3 separate regions of the Homo sapiens genome follow, and all the other regions are linked to region 2. The links are contacts of gene promoters, found by promoter capture Hi-C in blood cells and fetal thymus (Javierre and others, 2016). All regions are on one chromosome and are shown on one strand. The core of a region is centred on a gene start or on the middle of the fragment in contact, and the rest is flanking DNA. Distances in the headings are between cores, read along the strand shown.

The links. Contacts are between HindIII fragments. The CHiCAGO score rates a contact against its expected background, and 5 or more counts as called.
Region 1: a contact is called between a fragment that was not itself captured here and the fragment with the promoter of CYB561 in region 2, in 4 of 17 cell types (M0 macrophages, naive CD4 T cells, endothelial precursors and 1 more). The highest score is 6.1, in M0 macrophages.
Region 3: a contact is called between a fragment that was not itself captured here and the fragment with the promoter of CYB561 in region 2, in 3 of 17 cell types (M0 macrophages, endothelial precursors and M1 macrophages). The highest score is 8.0, in M0 macrophages.

What each region holds. Positions count from the first base shown.
Region 1 is chr17:63,676,227-63,681,043 of GRCh38, reverse strand. The region is part of intron 6 of MAP3K3 (mitogen-activated protein kinase kinase kinase 3); the gene reads right to left. Among named protein-coding and RNA genes, the nearest start is that of LIMD2, 21 kb to the left of the region's middle. RefSeq lists enhancers at 4,801-4,817, 3,314-4,817. The HindIII fragment of the contact is 1,353 bases long and covers 610-1,962 here.
Region 2 is chr17:63,443,380-63,448,176 of GRCh38, reverse strand. CYB561 (cytochrome b561) reads left to right here and starts at 1,871. Exons shown (of 6, transcript NM_001915.4): 1 at 1,871-1,932. RefSeq lists enhancers at 1-471, 975-1,114, 472-1,285 and silencers at 1,255-1,444, 1,615-2,174. The HindIII fragment of the contact is 2,186 bases long and covers 614-2,799 here.
Region 3 is chr17:63,577,883-63,582,353 of GRCh38, reverse strand. It overlaps DCAF7 (DDB1 and CUL4 associated factor 7), which reads right to left. Exons shown (of 7, transcript NM_005828.5): 2 at 3,726-3,884; 3 at 2,906-3,017; 4 at 2,411-2,529. Among named protein-coding and RNA genes, the nearest start is that of TACO1, 21 kb to the left of the region's middle. The HindIII fragment of the contact is 1,012 bases long and covers 2,585-3,596 here.

The DNA of each region.
Region 1 (4,817 bases), core at 37-2,536, 230 kb before region 2:
GTGCTTTACTTTTTGTTACACATTCACAGTAATTAACCTCATTTGATTTTCAACATCTCTACAACAGAGGTTTGGCAAATATTTTTTGAGTGGCTGCTAAGTGGCAATCATTCCACAAGGTATTTTTACATTTGTTACTTCACTTAATCCTTTCAACAATCCTGAGAGGTAAGCATTTGCTTTACTTAACAGAGGAGGAGACGGAGACTCAAGGAACTTAAATCTTAAAAAAAAAAAAAACCCAAAACACCCAAAAACAATTATTTATGTTTTACAGATAAGAGACTATAAAACCAATTAACAGGTACTTTCACCACATCAGCTTGTAAGATGAAATGGTTTATCATCCTAATGTTAGTGAATGACAGAGGTGTGCAGTCTTACAAATGACACACTTTGTAAGTCACTGAGCAATGTTTTTCTGCCATAAGGGATTTTGAGTCCGAGAAATCAGGTCCTCCTTCCTCCTAGCCCAAGAGCTTTTTCTGACTGGCTGTGTTGCTTTCCATGATCAGAGAAGACAAAAATGAGGCCAAAAGTTTGCATCTTTTTTCCTTCCTAAGCTCACCAAACCAGAAGAGCCAATTTTCAGAAGGTTTAAAAAAAGCTTTAACTATACCCACACAAATATTTCTTGTAGCTTCAAAACTTAAACGTAAGACTCTTATCCTGAACCCTTTTCCTGTTCTGAAGGGAACAAATTTATCCTGTTGTTTAGAAAACCAGAGACACAAGAGCCCTCCATTCCCTTATCTACCACCCCTTACCTCTCTCCCACGACCCAGCAATTCCCAGACACCAGGAATAGAGTAGTACCATCCCTCAACAATGCAGGTTACTTTCCTTGCTGGCTGGTTTCTCCAGTCTAGTTCAGGGGCTGTAGCACTAGGTTTTCTGAAATGGAACTGCAGGCAAGATGCTCTGTGGAAATGGCTAAGGAAGCAAGAGAGACCAAGTTTGGTAGCTGGAGACCTAGGGAAGTACCTGACTCATTCTATTCTGTTTTGTTGTTTTGTTTTGTTTCAGAGACAGGGTCTCACTCTGTTGCCCAGGCTAGTCTTGAGCTCCTGGGCTCAGGCAATCCTCCCCCTTCAGCTACAGGCAGGTGCCACCATGCCTGGCTTCTCTCCTTTCTTGATGATAGATCCCTAGTCCAGACCAGTTTTAGATGGAAAATCTGAGATACACAGTTTTAGTTTTATGTATGTGTGTGTGTATACATGTTTATACATATATGTATATATATTTCCTATTGCTCAAAAACTCATGTGTGGCCAGGTGCAGTGGCTCACACCTATTATCCCGACACTTCGAGAGGCAGGAGAAATGCTTGAGGCCAGGAGTTTGAGACCAGCATGGGCAACATGGTGAGACCCCATCTCTACAAAAAATATTTTAAAAATTAGCCAGGCGCACACTTGTGGACCCAGCTACTTGGAAGACTGAGACAGGAGGACTGCTTGAGCCTGGGAGGTTGAGGCCGCAGTGAGCCGTGTTTGGACCACTGCACTCCAGCATAGGTGATAGAGTGCGACCCTGTCTCATAGACAAAACAACAAAGCTCATGTGGAGCCAGGAGCACTCAGCCTGTACCTGGAAGTAGAGGTAGTGCACCAGGGACTAAGCATCTACAGCAGAGGGTGCTCAAGAGCCCAGTCCAGGGTCTTAGAACATCCCGGAAAAGAGGGTGGGCCTGACAGACTGATGGAGCTCAACAAACTCCCTGAGCCAGAGAGACTCCCACTATTTCAAAGACCCTCAGAAGGAAGAAAAATACTTAATGGAAAAAAAGAATGGCGGGGAGGCTTGCTCTGTGTGTGTGTGTGCACTTTTAGGAACAGGGTCTCGCTATGTTGCCTAGGCTGGTCTCAAGCCTTGGCCTCCCAAAGTGCTGGGATTAAAGGCATGGGCCCCCATGCCTGGCCAGAGGGTTGCTTTTTGAAAGACATTTTCTAAGAAGCTTAAACTATTGTTTTTCAATGACCTTTAAGAAACTGACACTGACTCTTTTTTTTGAGACGGAGTCTTGCTCTGTTGCCCAGGCTGGAGTGCAGTGGTACAATCTTGGCTCAAGGCAACCTCCGCCTCCTGGGTTCAAGCAATTTTCTGCCTCAGCCTCCTGAATAGCTGGGATTACAGGTGGCCGTCACCATACCCAGCTAATTCTTATATTTTTAGTAGAGACAGGGTTTCACCATGTTGGCCAGGCTGGTCTTGAACTCTTGTCTTCAGGTGATCTGCCTGTCTCAGCCTCCCAAAGTGCTGGGATTACAGGCGTCAGCCACTGCACCCAGTTGAAACTGACTCTTTAATTCTTCTATATTAAGTCAGTTGTTCAGAACATATGGTTCATGTGGTTGTGCTGAATACATTTTGAGAATTCACCACTGAACTGGTATTGGAGAATACTTCCAATCTCTTCTTGGACACATCACCCCAGCCTCCCTCCAAGGATGTCTCTCTGGCAGGAAAGCTAACATGGGGTCCTCAGTAATCTGGCCTCCCCACCTGACTCCAGAGCAAAGGCCAGAAACAAAATTGCTCTGAAAACAGGCATAGAATTTTGCTGGATTTCCTGTCTCAACATCTCACTCACAGGGTAGAGGCCACCAATTCTGAGATAAAGTGGTATCTGAGCCATGCCTTTGCAATGGTCTCAAACAGCCCATGGAAGAGAATTTGTCCTATTTTCTAAGTCCTAACAGAAACTAAAGTTACTCTGAGTGTAAATTTAGGGATATTGTACCATGAACTAACAGAGCAATAAAATCAGTCAAGGCAATTTTTTTTTCTTAAAAAAATATTGTCACCTCTCATTTAACCCTTACTACACCCCTGCAGTGGTGGTGCATTATCATCATCCACATTGCGCAGAGGGAAACCCAAGCCCCAAAGCCATAAAGTGACTTTATGGTGGGGCCGAAGCGAGAAAACAGGCTTTGTGACTCTCATACAGTTCAGCCAAGGCAATTTGGGGACCATAATTTATTTCCAAAAAGGGCAGGCATGCTGCTCAACACAGTGGCACAAGACATAACTTCTCCTTGAACTGGCCAGGCCATCTGTCCCCCATGAGTAATCCCTATGGAGGATGGAGATCCCATCCACAAGGAAATATGACAGCCTGCCAGGTGTGGGAGGGAGGCTAACGTGGGGACTTCCTGGCAGCACAGGGGAAGCACAGTGCCATGTATCTTTCTTTCTTTGGAGTGCAGTGGCGTGTTCATAGCTCACTGTAGCCCCAAACTCCTTGGGCTCAAGGGATCCTCCTGCTTCAGCCTCCCAAAGTGCAGGGATTACAGGTGTGAGCCACATCCACAGTGGCATGTTTCATGCAGCTCAAATTCAGAGTTGTTTTCTCCATGGTCATTTGGGAGTCAGAGGCCAGGAATACAAAATGCCGCTTGGCCAACAGAGGGTTTGTAGGCAAAGACAAGATGGAGGTTTAGGGGAAATCTGGACCAAGGGAACTACTCCACTTTCCAGTGACCCAGACCTCACAGACCCATGTACCTGGCTGTTTCCCTTGCTACTGTAACACAAAATTCCAGTGCAACTGTAAAAAAAGGATGGTTTTCCTAAGTCTTATCATGTCACAAAACACAGAGAGAGCACTATTTAACCCTTTGCTTATAAAAATTAGCCTACTGCCTGCTTCCTACTTTTAGCTTTGGATGACATCTTGGTAGTCCACAAGTTCTATGGCAATTCAATCCACATGTCAGCAACATTTGTCAGCAGCAGAAGCAACTCTAAGGAGGTAAGTGAGGTGCACGGAGAAAAGACTAAGCTTTGAAATTAGATATACGTGGGTTCAGATCAGGCTTTGCCACTCATTAGCTAAATGATCTAAGCTCTCACCTCAATTTCCTCAACTGCAAAAATGGGGAGAACTATCTACCTCATAATTTCTTTCGGAAGTTATAAATGTGCTGGCACAGGTACATATCCGCATAACCCCATCTCACAGTAGGAACTCCGTAGAATCCCATTTGTACCCTTCACTCTATGTGGCAGATATATGGGGTAGGCGTAAGATGGATTCCACCCTTCTACTGTGCCTTCCTGTACTTGAGAAGCTAACTGGCTAAAAGCTGTATTTCTAAGACTTTCTTTAGATTCAGCTAATCACATGCACTTCTATGAGATTAACAGGCTTCCTGCTGTTCCTGAGCAGTCACAGAAGCCTTTGGTTTTTCTGCCACAGTGTTAGCAGAGGCCCCACACCTGGTCTCCAGCTTTGCCGATGTTGACAGGTGTGGACCAGACCTGAGGGGCACTGGACTTCTGGACCGGTGGCTTCCTGATTACAGAAGAGGGAGGACGCTCTGTGGTGTGTCTTAACCTAGAGGCTGCTTCTCTTTCTTCCCTCATTGATTCCATAATCCACAATGTGCACCTCTGGTTTATGGAACCTCTTCTTCCTGAAACTAGCTACAGTGGGTTCTCCTCTGCACAACTGAACTCTGACCAACACACTCTGGAGCTGTATTATACATTTTACCTAGAACAAATAAAAATGTCTCTTGTAAGGGACTGATTGGAGAGAAAGAAAAACTCTTATTTATGAAACCTCAGACACTGGTCCAAACTATGCCTAGGCAGGATGAAATGCCCTCAATCTGTTACATGGAGTGTCTGGGGTGAGACTTCCCTGGGATAAAATATCCATGGTCCCCCTGACACCTGTCCCCTCCTTCATCAGCTGCACTGAACTCTCCCCTGGTTTTACAGGTGGGATGGGACTAGCTCACAGGAGGCCAGCACTACAGACCCAGGAGGGTCTGGGGGGAAAAATAGCAAAGGTTTTCTGAGCT
Region 2 (4,797 bases), core at 622-3,121:
CGGCAGCAGGAACAGGGTTGCAAGGTAGTTAGTCTGGGTGTCTGTCGTCCTGGGTTGGGACATCTGGGAGCTGGGGCAAGGCCTCTGGGCCCTAGTGCCAGAGAGCAGTTTGGTGGCGTTGCCTGTTCTTTAAAATGGGTTAGGTGTAGCCATGAGCCCCCCCATGCAGCGGGTGTGCAGGCCTCTCCCTCAGTCAGAACACCCTCACCCACCCCTCCCCACTTGAAGCAGGCCCTTGAGAACACTGCTGGCAGGGAGGCGGCTGCTCTTCCTCCTAAGGGAAAAGCCTGCAGCCCCGTGCTGCTGGGCCGTGGGGTGAGGGGGAAGCCAAAGGGCCCCTATCACCCCTCAGCAGGAGTCTCTCCTGGCTTTGGAAGGGGCTGAAGGCCCGGGGCTCTCACGAGGGAACTCAGCCCTGCTCAGCCGGTCAGGACTCCTCCTCCACGTCTAAATCCACAGACCAAACAAAGGACATGGCTCAGTTCCACCTTCAATCCACAGGGATTCTGCCTGTTAGCACGCTAAGGAAACTGTTTCTTACTTTAAATTATCCATTAATTTCCTCCAACTGAAAGATACTCTACAAATTTTCTGTTGTTGGAGGGTTTAAGCTTGGTCCCTCTGAGGGGGTGGGCCCTGCTGTGTCGGCCCCTTGTGTCTGCTCGTGGAAGGTGTGCCATGTGCCACCGTGTGCCATATGCAGCTGACACGCCTGTGCGTCTCGCCTGGCGCTGGAGACTGCTCTCTGTGTACTAAGCGAGTACTGGATCCCCAGGGCCTATCTTGCCCACTGCCTGTGGCAATACACAGGCAATACACAAAGCGCATTCAAGTAAGCAGGTCTCCCTGCCCCCCGGCCTCCCAGAACCTCGGTGCCTGGAGGGCAGGTGGGGGAGGGCGTTCCTGAATGGAGGCCGGTTTCCCTCTGCGGGGAGGAAACCCCATTTCCCTCCTACCCCTAGGCGCTTGCTACATCTGGCCCGGCATCAGACAGGAAAGAACCCTTTCTTCCCAGCTTGTAGGAAGTCTGAGCTGGGCCCCTTATCTACCCACAGCACTTCCTGGACCGGGGGCCTGGACCGGGCTCCGAAGGGGCTGGCTCCCGGTCTTGGTCTTGGCCTCGGCGCCCTCGTTTCTCTGCGCTTTGGGCAGGGGAAGCTGCGGACGGCAAGCTCTCGGCTTTCGTGAGAGCCTGGTGGAATCGGTGTTCCCCGAAGGCTACTCTGCGGGGGCGGGGGCTAGTCCGGGCCTTCCCGGCAGTATCGTCTCCCCCGTGGGGGCTGGGGAGGTGCCCCCAGGGCTCCCGGAGCGGCGGCGTGGCCAAGGCCCGAACCGGGTCTGACATCTAGTGGCCTCCTGGGCCCGGGCAGGGCGAGGGCGGGGCAGGGAAGAAGGTGGAGGGCAGAATGGGAGGCGTGGAGCGAGAAAATCAGGAAGCGCGGGACCAAGCCGGGGAAGGGCGGCGGGTCTCGCCCCTGGCACCCGCTCTCCTCGGGGCCCGTCCCATCCCCCAGGCCTGGCCGACCCCAGGTCCTTCCGTGCGCAGTCGGGGCTCGCAAGGACGAATCCCGCGGCCCTCGAGGCAGGCCCGGGGGAGCTCCCGGCCCTCCACCCCCGCAGGCCGCAGATCCCACGCACCCCCGATCATGGGGGCCCCGGAGGGAGGTCGCGAGGCCGGGCTCACGGTGGCCGCGGTTCGCCCACGTGCGGGCCCGGAGCTGGCAGGGCCCGGTCCCGAGCGTGGCCGCAACCGCGGGGACCTGGCACGTGCGGGGCAGCCCCGGGGGCCGCGTACGCCACTTCCGGTCCCGGAGACACCGCCCAGCCCGCCGCCCGGTTGCCATGGCGACGCCGTCGCGCCACGGCCCGCAGAACCGGCCAAGCGACCCGGGCGCGGCGCGGGGAGGCTGAAGGGACGCTCGGGTAGGCAAGGTAGGAGGCCGGGCTGGGGGTGGGAGCGGAGCGCGCAGGGGTGCGGGGCGGGGGCGGCCCAGGTGAGCCCTGACTGCGCAGGGAGGGACAGCGCGGGGCTCCCGAGTAGCAGCCGGCCTCGCACCTGCCCCTTGCGGCCGCGCACTGGACTGCGGCGCCGACCCGCACCCTGGGCCCGAGGGCTGCAGGGCTCGCCCGCCCTCTCGGAGCCGAGCCTCTCCCGGTCCAGGCGGCCCCTGCCCTGGCCTGCCCGGGTGCCGGGTCTCTGCTGAAGTTAGAACCGAGACCCCCGCTTGCTGGTGACCCCGAGTTTGGATCTTTGCTCCTGCGCCGCGTTCTAGAGCAAGGTAGGGTGCAAATGGACCAACCAGCCTTTGCCACGGCTGCCCTCTTGAAATCTGAAACCGGAGCCACCGCCTCTTGCCCCGAGCAGGGCCCGGGCTGCAACGTGGAGCCGCAGGTCCCCGCCTGTGTCTCCCGACGCCCCCAGCTTCTGAGCGCGAGGGTGGGAGTTTCCCGAGTGGGAAAGCCCCATGGCTTCGGTGGCCTCGGTGGCCCTGTGGTGGGTCAGGCCGGTGCCAACTGCGCTGAGGGCGGAGCTGCCGCCACCTTGACACCTGGGAGATGGCAGGGCCACCCTCCCTCCCTCCCTCCCTGCCCTGTCCCCGACTGTATCACGGAGCGAGGATCATCCGTGTGGATCTGGGGTCCCCTTCCCAGACTTCTCCTTTCTGGTCGTCCTCCTCTCATTCATTCCACCTTGGCAGCCTTTGTGGATTTTCTGACTCCGTAAATGAAGTTACATCTAGGGCGCCTAGATTCTGCCCCTTTGGTTTAATAGCTAATGAAAAAAAAAAAAAAAAAGCTTTGCCACCTCCTCTAGGTGCCTGGATTTCTCCCGGTGAAATTTGATGGAGGCAGGAAAATACGAGGCGGTGGCAGCCCCACCTCCTTGCATGAGGGAGCCTCCTAGAGCTGGAGGTGGAACCACCCTGCTTGTCCCACTCCTTTTCTTTCTTGCTTTATTGCTTTCTTGCTTTCCTTACTTTCCTTCCTTCTTTTTTTTTTGAGATGGAGTCTTGCTCTGTTGCCAGGAGGCTGGAGTGCAGAGGGCAATATCAGCTCACTGCAACCTCCATCTTCCGGGTTCAAGCGATTCTCCTGTTCCAGCCTCCCTAGTAGCTGGGATTACAGGTGTGTGCCACAACACGCAGCTAATTTTTGCATTTTTAGGAGAGACGGGGTTTCACCATGTTGGCCAGGCTGGTCTCGAACTCCTAACCTCAAGTGATCTGCCCGCCTTGGCATCCCAAAGTGCTAGGATTACAGACGTGAGCCACCGTGCCCAGCCTTGTCCTACTACTTTTCTGCCCTCACCACTTTTCCTTGGCAGGCAGAGCTTGGGCTCCTGCTAATACTGGGATGGTTCAGTGGCATTAGATGGCATTGGTGGAGGGGAATGAGAAATTAACCCCCTCTGAAAGCGTAGCTTCACTGGGAAAAAGCACTCTACTGTCTGAACAATTCATAAATGAATTTTGGGAATATACAATGTCACAGATTAAAAGCAGACCATCCTGTGTTCTTCCAGCCCCAGGAGCTTCTGCTTGGTGTGCAGGGGCTAATGGTGGACAGCAATGGAGTGTAGATTTATTAGAGACGGCTGCCATCTGGCTCTCTGTGGCCCCAAACCTCATGTGTCAGCAGTGTGACTCTTTCTAAGGTGCTCTTAGGACCAGATTTCGTTTTTGTAAGATTGGTCTTTGATGGAATGCCTACTTTGTGGCAGGCACTGTGCTGGGCGCTGGCACACCTTTATCCACTTACTCCTTCTGTGTTCAATAAGGTAGCTCCAGATATCCTCCACTTTATAGATTAGGAAGCAGGCTTGGAGAAGGGACTTGGCTTGTCCAGGAGCTGATGGTTATAAATAATGAGTCTGTTTTGAAATCACATCTCTCTAACCTGGGCTGCGCTGGGCCTTTCATGGGCCGTTGGCCCTCTGGCCTTCACGGGCCCCGTCTTCCATAAAAAAAATAATAACAATTGGCCCGGCGCAGTGGTGAAAGCGCGTCTCTACAAAAGATACAAAAAATTAGCCAGGCATCGTGGAGCACGCCTGTAATCCCAGACTCGGGGAGTCTGAGGCAGGAGAATTGCTTGGACCCGGAAGGCAGAGGTTGCGGTGACCCGAGATCTTGCCATTGCACTCCAGCCTCAAAAAAAAAAAAATTAATAAAAATTATATTTTACAACTGCATTGGTATAAATACAAGTATAGTCCAGACTGGATTACAATTAATTTTAAAAACAAAACATTTTAGGGCTGGCTCATGTCTGTCTGTAATCCCAGAGCTTTGGGAGGCTGGGGCAGGAGGACTGCTTGAGACCAGGAGTTTGAGACTAGCCTGCACAACATAGTGAGACCCTATCTCTCCAAAAAAAGAAAAAATTAACTGGGCATTTCAGCATAGCTGTAGTTCCAGCTACTTGAGAGGCTGAGGTGGGAGGATCCCTCGAGCCCAGGAGTTCGAGGCTGCTGTGAGCTATGATCATGCCATCGTATTCCAGCCTGGGTGACAGAGGTAGACACTGTTAACAACAACAACAAAAAAATTAATTAAAATAAGTTTTAAAAAATTGCAACATTTTCCTCAACCCTAAATGTTCATTTTTTTCTTCTGATTTTCATGGAAATGGAAACATTTTGGTTTGTAAGCATTGGGAGCCCTCTGTCTTGTGGGAGAAAGGAGCTCAGTGTTTGACTTCAGGCTCTGCTGCTTCCTGGGTACCTAGTTCCTTGGTACCTGGTCCAAGCAGCCTGGATACCCCGGGTCCCTGGGCTGCCTGGGCCAGGACAGCCGC
Region 3 (4,471 bases), core at 1,841-4,340, 130 kb before region 2:
ACGACTAGAATTTCTCACTAAATATTACAGCTCCAGTGTTGAAGTTCTGCCTACAGAGGGGCACTGCCAAATGAGCATCTATTGCTATTTAACCTCACGAATTCCTTTTTTTTCTGGCTATGAAGAAATTATGCTTGTCTTTCTATGGCAGGAAGTAGAAGTGGTTCAAAAGGGACCGGGCCAGTCATCAACAAGGAGGCACTCAGGCCTGACGTGCCTGACAGATCGAGGCTTTCTCTAGTACTGTACAGCTGCTTTAAGGCACAGCCATGTTTATCAATATGTATACCCCCCAATGACAGCTCCTGGTAACCCTCAGGGACAGAGATCCCACAGGTGCCATGGGCAGCGTGGCTGAGTGTGTAATGCTCTCTCGGCTCTAAGTGACTGCTCCTTCAGTGCTCCGCTAGCATGGTTCACTGGGAAACCAAGGGAAGGTGACAACTCCCAAGTACACTAAACCCTCTTCTACACTGATCTGCCAGGTATCAATGAGAGCCTTCCAAACAAGTCTTTTCCTAGAGAAAGGTGGACTGAGAAAAATCAAAGGTGCTAGAAAGGTGCTATTACTGTTTCTCTAGAGCCACTATCCTTTCTCAGGTTTATTCCTTCAAGACAAGGCTGCCGGTCCAGGCCTGTCTGCTGTCAAGATCCATTCCTGGCCTTTCTCCCTGCTCTTCTTCTCTGTGTCACAAGAGAACTGATTCCTACAGCGTGCATTTGGCAGGGTCTCAGATCTGCTGGCTGCTTCTGGCTGGTTCAGCCATGGGAGGCTTTGGTGGGAAAATGGATGATGGGAGGCAGGGAAAAGCTAAGGTATTTCTCCTCCCCTCTCTCTGTTCCTAGAAGCGTCTCTGCCAGGTAAATCCAGCCCCTGGGCTCCAGGAACCCTGCCTCCTCCCATGGTCCCTCTGGCCTATAGGCAGCTGCAGCTTCCTGCTGCTCCCATTCTATGGATGACCTCACTGCTACCTATGTGGCTTCTCAGCTTTACCATCTTCTGTATAAGCAGCCCCTGGATTAAATCCCTGCAGTTCAAATACTTAAGAGTAGTTCCCATTTTCTGGGTTGGACCTAACAGACAACAGCAGGCTAAGTTGTCATATAACTAAAATGTAGCCGCTTGTTCAACTTGATGCCAAGAGGGTTTCCAGAAGTTCCTTACTGGTCCTCTCTGTGGGACAAACTCTTCATTTGACCCCTGGTTTAGCAGCAGTCAACTCTAGAAGTCTTGTAACAGGGCTTACCTTCAGGAGTACAGAAAGCCAAAGACAACCCCTTACTAAGAATGATAACCTGGGTCACATCTTCCTATGCTGTTGACAACCTCAAGTTTCTGACCTAAGATCAAGGCATTCCTTTTATCTGTATAGATATTAATACCCCTAGCTGTGCAGGGTAAGGTAGAAAAGAACAGGAAATAGTACCCACAGGAGATGAGAGTACCAGGAGCATGCAATGGCTGTAGGAGGAAAAGACTTATGGGGATTTTCCAAAATCACTGAGAAGAATGCTTTGATTAAAATGCAATTGGCCGGGCGCAGTGGCTCACGCCTGTAATCCCAGCACTTTGGGAGGCCAAGGTGGGTGGATCACCTGAGGTCAGGAGAGTTCGAGACAATCCTGGCCAACATGGTGAAACCCTGTCTCTGCTAAAAAATACAAAAATTAGCCAGGGGTGGTTGCGGGCACCTGTAATCTCAGCTACTCCGGAAGCTGAGGCAGGAGAATTGCTTGAACCCAGAAGGCAGAGGATGCAGTGAGCCCAGATTGCGCCATTGCACTCCAGCCTGGGCAACAAGAGGAAAACTTTGTCTCAAAAAAAAAAAAAAAAAAAAAAAAAAAAGCAATCACAAATAGCTCTTCTCAGTTTTCCCAATAAACACAGAAGCATCGCCATCAAAATAAAATATATTCCATTGCCTCCACTGCCAACAGTAATGAAAGTATAAAGATTAAGTGAACATACTAGGATTTGGTAAAACATTTATAGAGAAAAATGAATAATTACGTTTGTCTCTCAGAAAATTTTTTCTCTTCCTGTCTCCCTTCTTTCCTCCCCAAATCTAATCTGTTTCAAGATAAGTATTACTCTAAAGTTATTTTTTAATCACATCAGTTCCCAGCTCCTCTATAAGAGACTTTGTTATTTAAAAAAAGCAACCTCTGGCATGAAAAGAACAATGACAGACCGTAGAATAGGTCATTTACATTAGCCAAAAAAAAGCATTAGTTTACAATAGTGTTGTTTTCCCGTTTTTGATACATTACTATTGTCAATTTAGACAAGAAGATGTTATGTTATGATTTTCTACATAAATTGCAGAACAATGAGAGAACAAGCTGACCTCTTCCTGTGCGGAAGGCACAGGAAGCATTTGAGGAAAGACGAAATGGAAAAGCATCTTACCTCTTTGTCATGGGCGATCAGCTGGGTCTTCACGTGGCCAGACACGAGATTCACTCGCCCTAACACCTGCCCTGTCTCCAGCCCCCAGATGGTGCATGTCGTATCAATGCTTGAGGTACCTGCAAACAACCAGTGCAAGTCAGGGCTGACGGGACCAAGGTTCTCATGCAAGCTTCCCTCTTGTGTTTACTCATCTGCTCAGCCCAGGGAGCAGCATACCATAAAGACTACAGAAAACAAGGTGGGGGCTACCGGCAGAGCCACCGAGGCAGTCAAGTCTTCAGTCCTCACCGTAGGACCTTAGATTCTAACTGGAGAGACAAGATCTATACACACGGAAAGCTCACCCACACAAAGGAATTAATAAATAACCACATTCCACGCCTAGCCTACTTCCCACTGAGCCTTGTTCTAGGATGTATGGCCCAGTGTGACATCTGAGAAAATTTATTTTGGCTTCTTCCAGCTGAAATACATACTCCCTAACTCCCTTACCTAAAAGATAAGGATCCACCTCATTCCAGTCAAAGGAGGTCAGGGGAGCACAGAAATCAGAGTTCTTATTATTGTTTAGCAAACACTCCAGCCTGGTCTCTGTTTCACCAACCTGAAGGAACAAGAATTTTAAAAAAAATCAGCCAGTCTTATCCTCATAAAAAGTCTTTTAAAAAATCCCTGTTTAGAAAATATCTTAGCAAACATAAGACATGAGGGGAAAACATTTTTATCAAAAACAGTAATAAACCCAGGACTCCCTGAATGCTACTTTTTCCCATACTTTCTCCTCTGCCCAGCTTTGTTTTCTACATTTTCATCCCTGCACCTTCCTAGAGGAGAGGTCTTCTCACTTTGCCCAGCCTGGAACCTCTGCACAGGTGTACTAAGGCCACGCCCATGCTACAGAGGACGCTGCTGCTGATGAGCTCAGCTGAGGGTGGAGGGAAGCCTCCAAGATCCACTCACACACTTTATCAGAATCAATGGCCTGGTATTTCATTTAGTTTACTCAAAAATACCTTGGCTGCAAACAGAATATGAGTTCCCAAGTATTCCCACCTCCACTGAAGGCCGTCATCATCACCTCGGGTTGACTGAGCTGACTGCAGCCAGCAGCCAGACTTCATGGAATCTTGACTTGATATACTAGAAAATCTGCTGAGCCAAACGAGGCCAGTCCATTTAAGCTTCGCTTGCTTCTCCTGTGCTGCAATGACACTCGCTGCCTCTGACCCCTGTCTGTTCTGTGACTTTTCACTGCTAACAGCTGAGGCTGAGAAAGCCCACTTGTCTGGCTGCTAATAAAGCATCCGCTTACCCTCCACACACGGAGATAGTCACCGCTTGTTGCCAGTAGGTCTGGATAGACGCCTTTTGTGTCAGGGATCCACATGAGCTTTGTGGTGGGGTATGGGTGGTCAAAGGTGTTTCTGCAAATAAACTCTGAACTCTCCTCATCTAAACCAACAAGCTGAACCTGTAACATACCAAAGTTGAGCCACATAAGCATTTGTGAGCAGTACAGCAAATACATTAGATCCCTGGTCAGTGACAGAGGTTTTTTTTGTTTGTTTTTTGTTTTAAAGACAGGATCTTGCTCTGTTGCCCAGGCTGGAGTGCAGTGGTGCAACCACAGCTCAGTGCAGCCTCCACCTCCTGGTCTCAAGTGATCCTTCCACCTCAGCCTCTCAAGTAGCTGGGGTTAGAGGCATGCACCACCAGACACAGCTAATTTTGTTCATTTTTTGTAGAGACAAGGCCTCACATGTTGCCCAGGCTGGCCTTGAACTCCTGGGCTCAACTGATCCTCCCACCTCAGCCTCCCAAAAGTGCTGGGATTACAGACATGAGTCACTATGCCTGGCCAGTGACAGAAGTCTTGACACTGTACTACACTAAACTGCAGAATCAAAAACGATTGCCATGAGAGGGTATCTAGTCCAACCATCCTCTGGCAGACAAGGACACCCAGACTCAAAGGGGTGGTTACACTCAACACTGCAAAGCCAGTAGGAGACAGAGATTACAGGTTTTCTGACTCAAGTCTGCATTCTTGACTCCAAC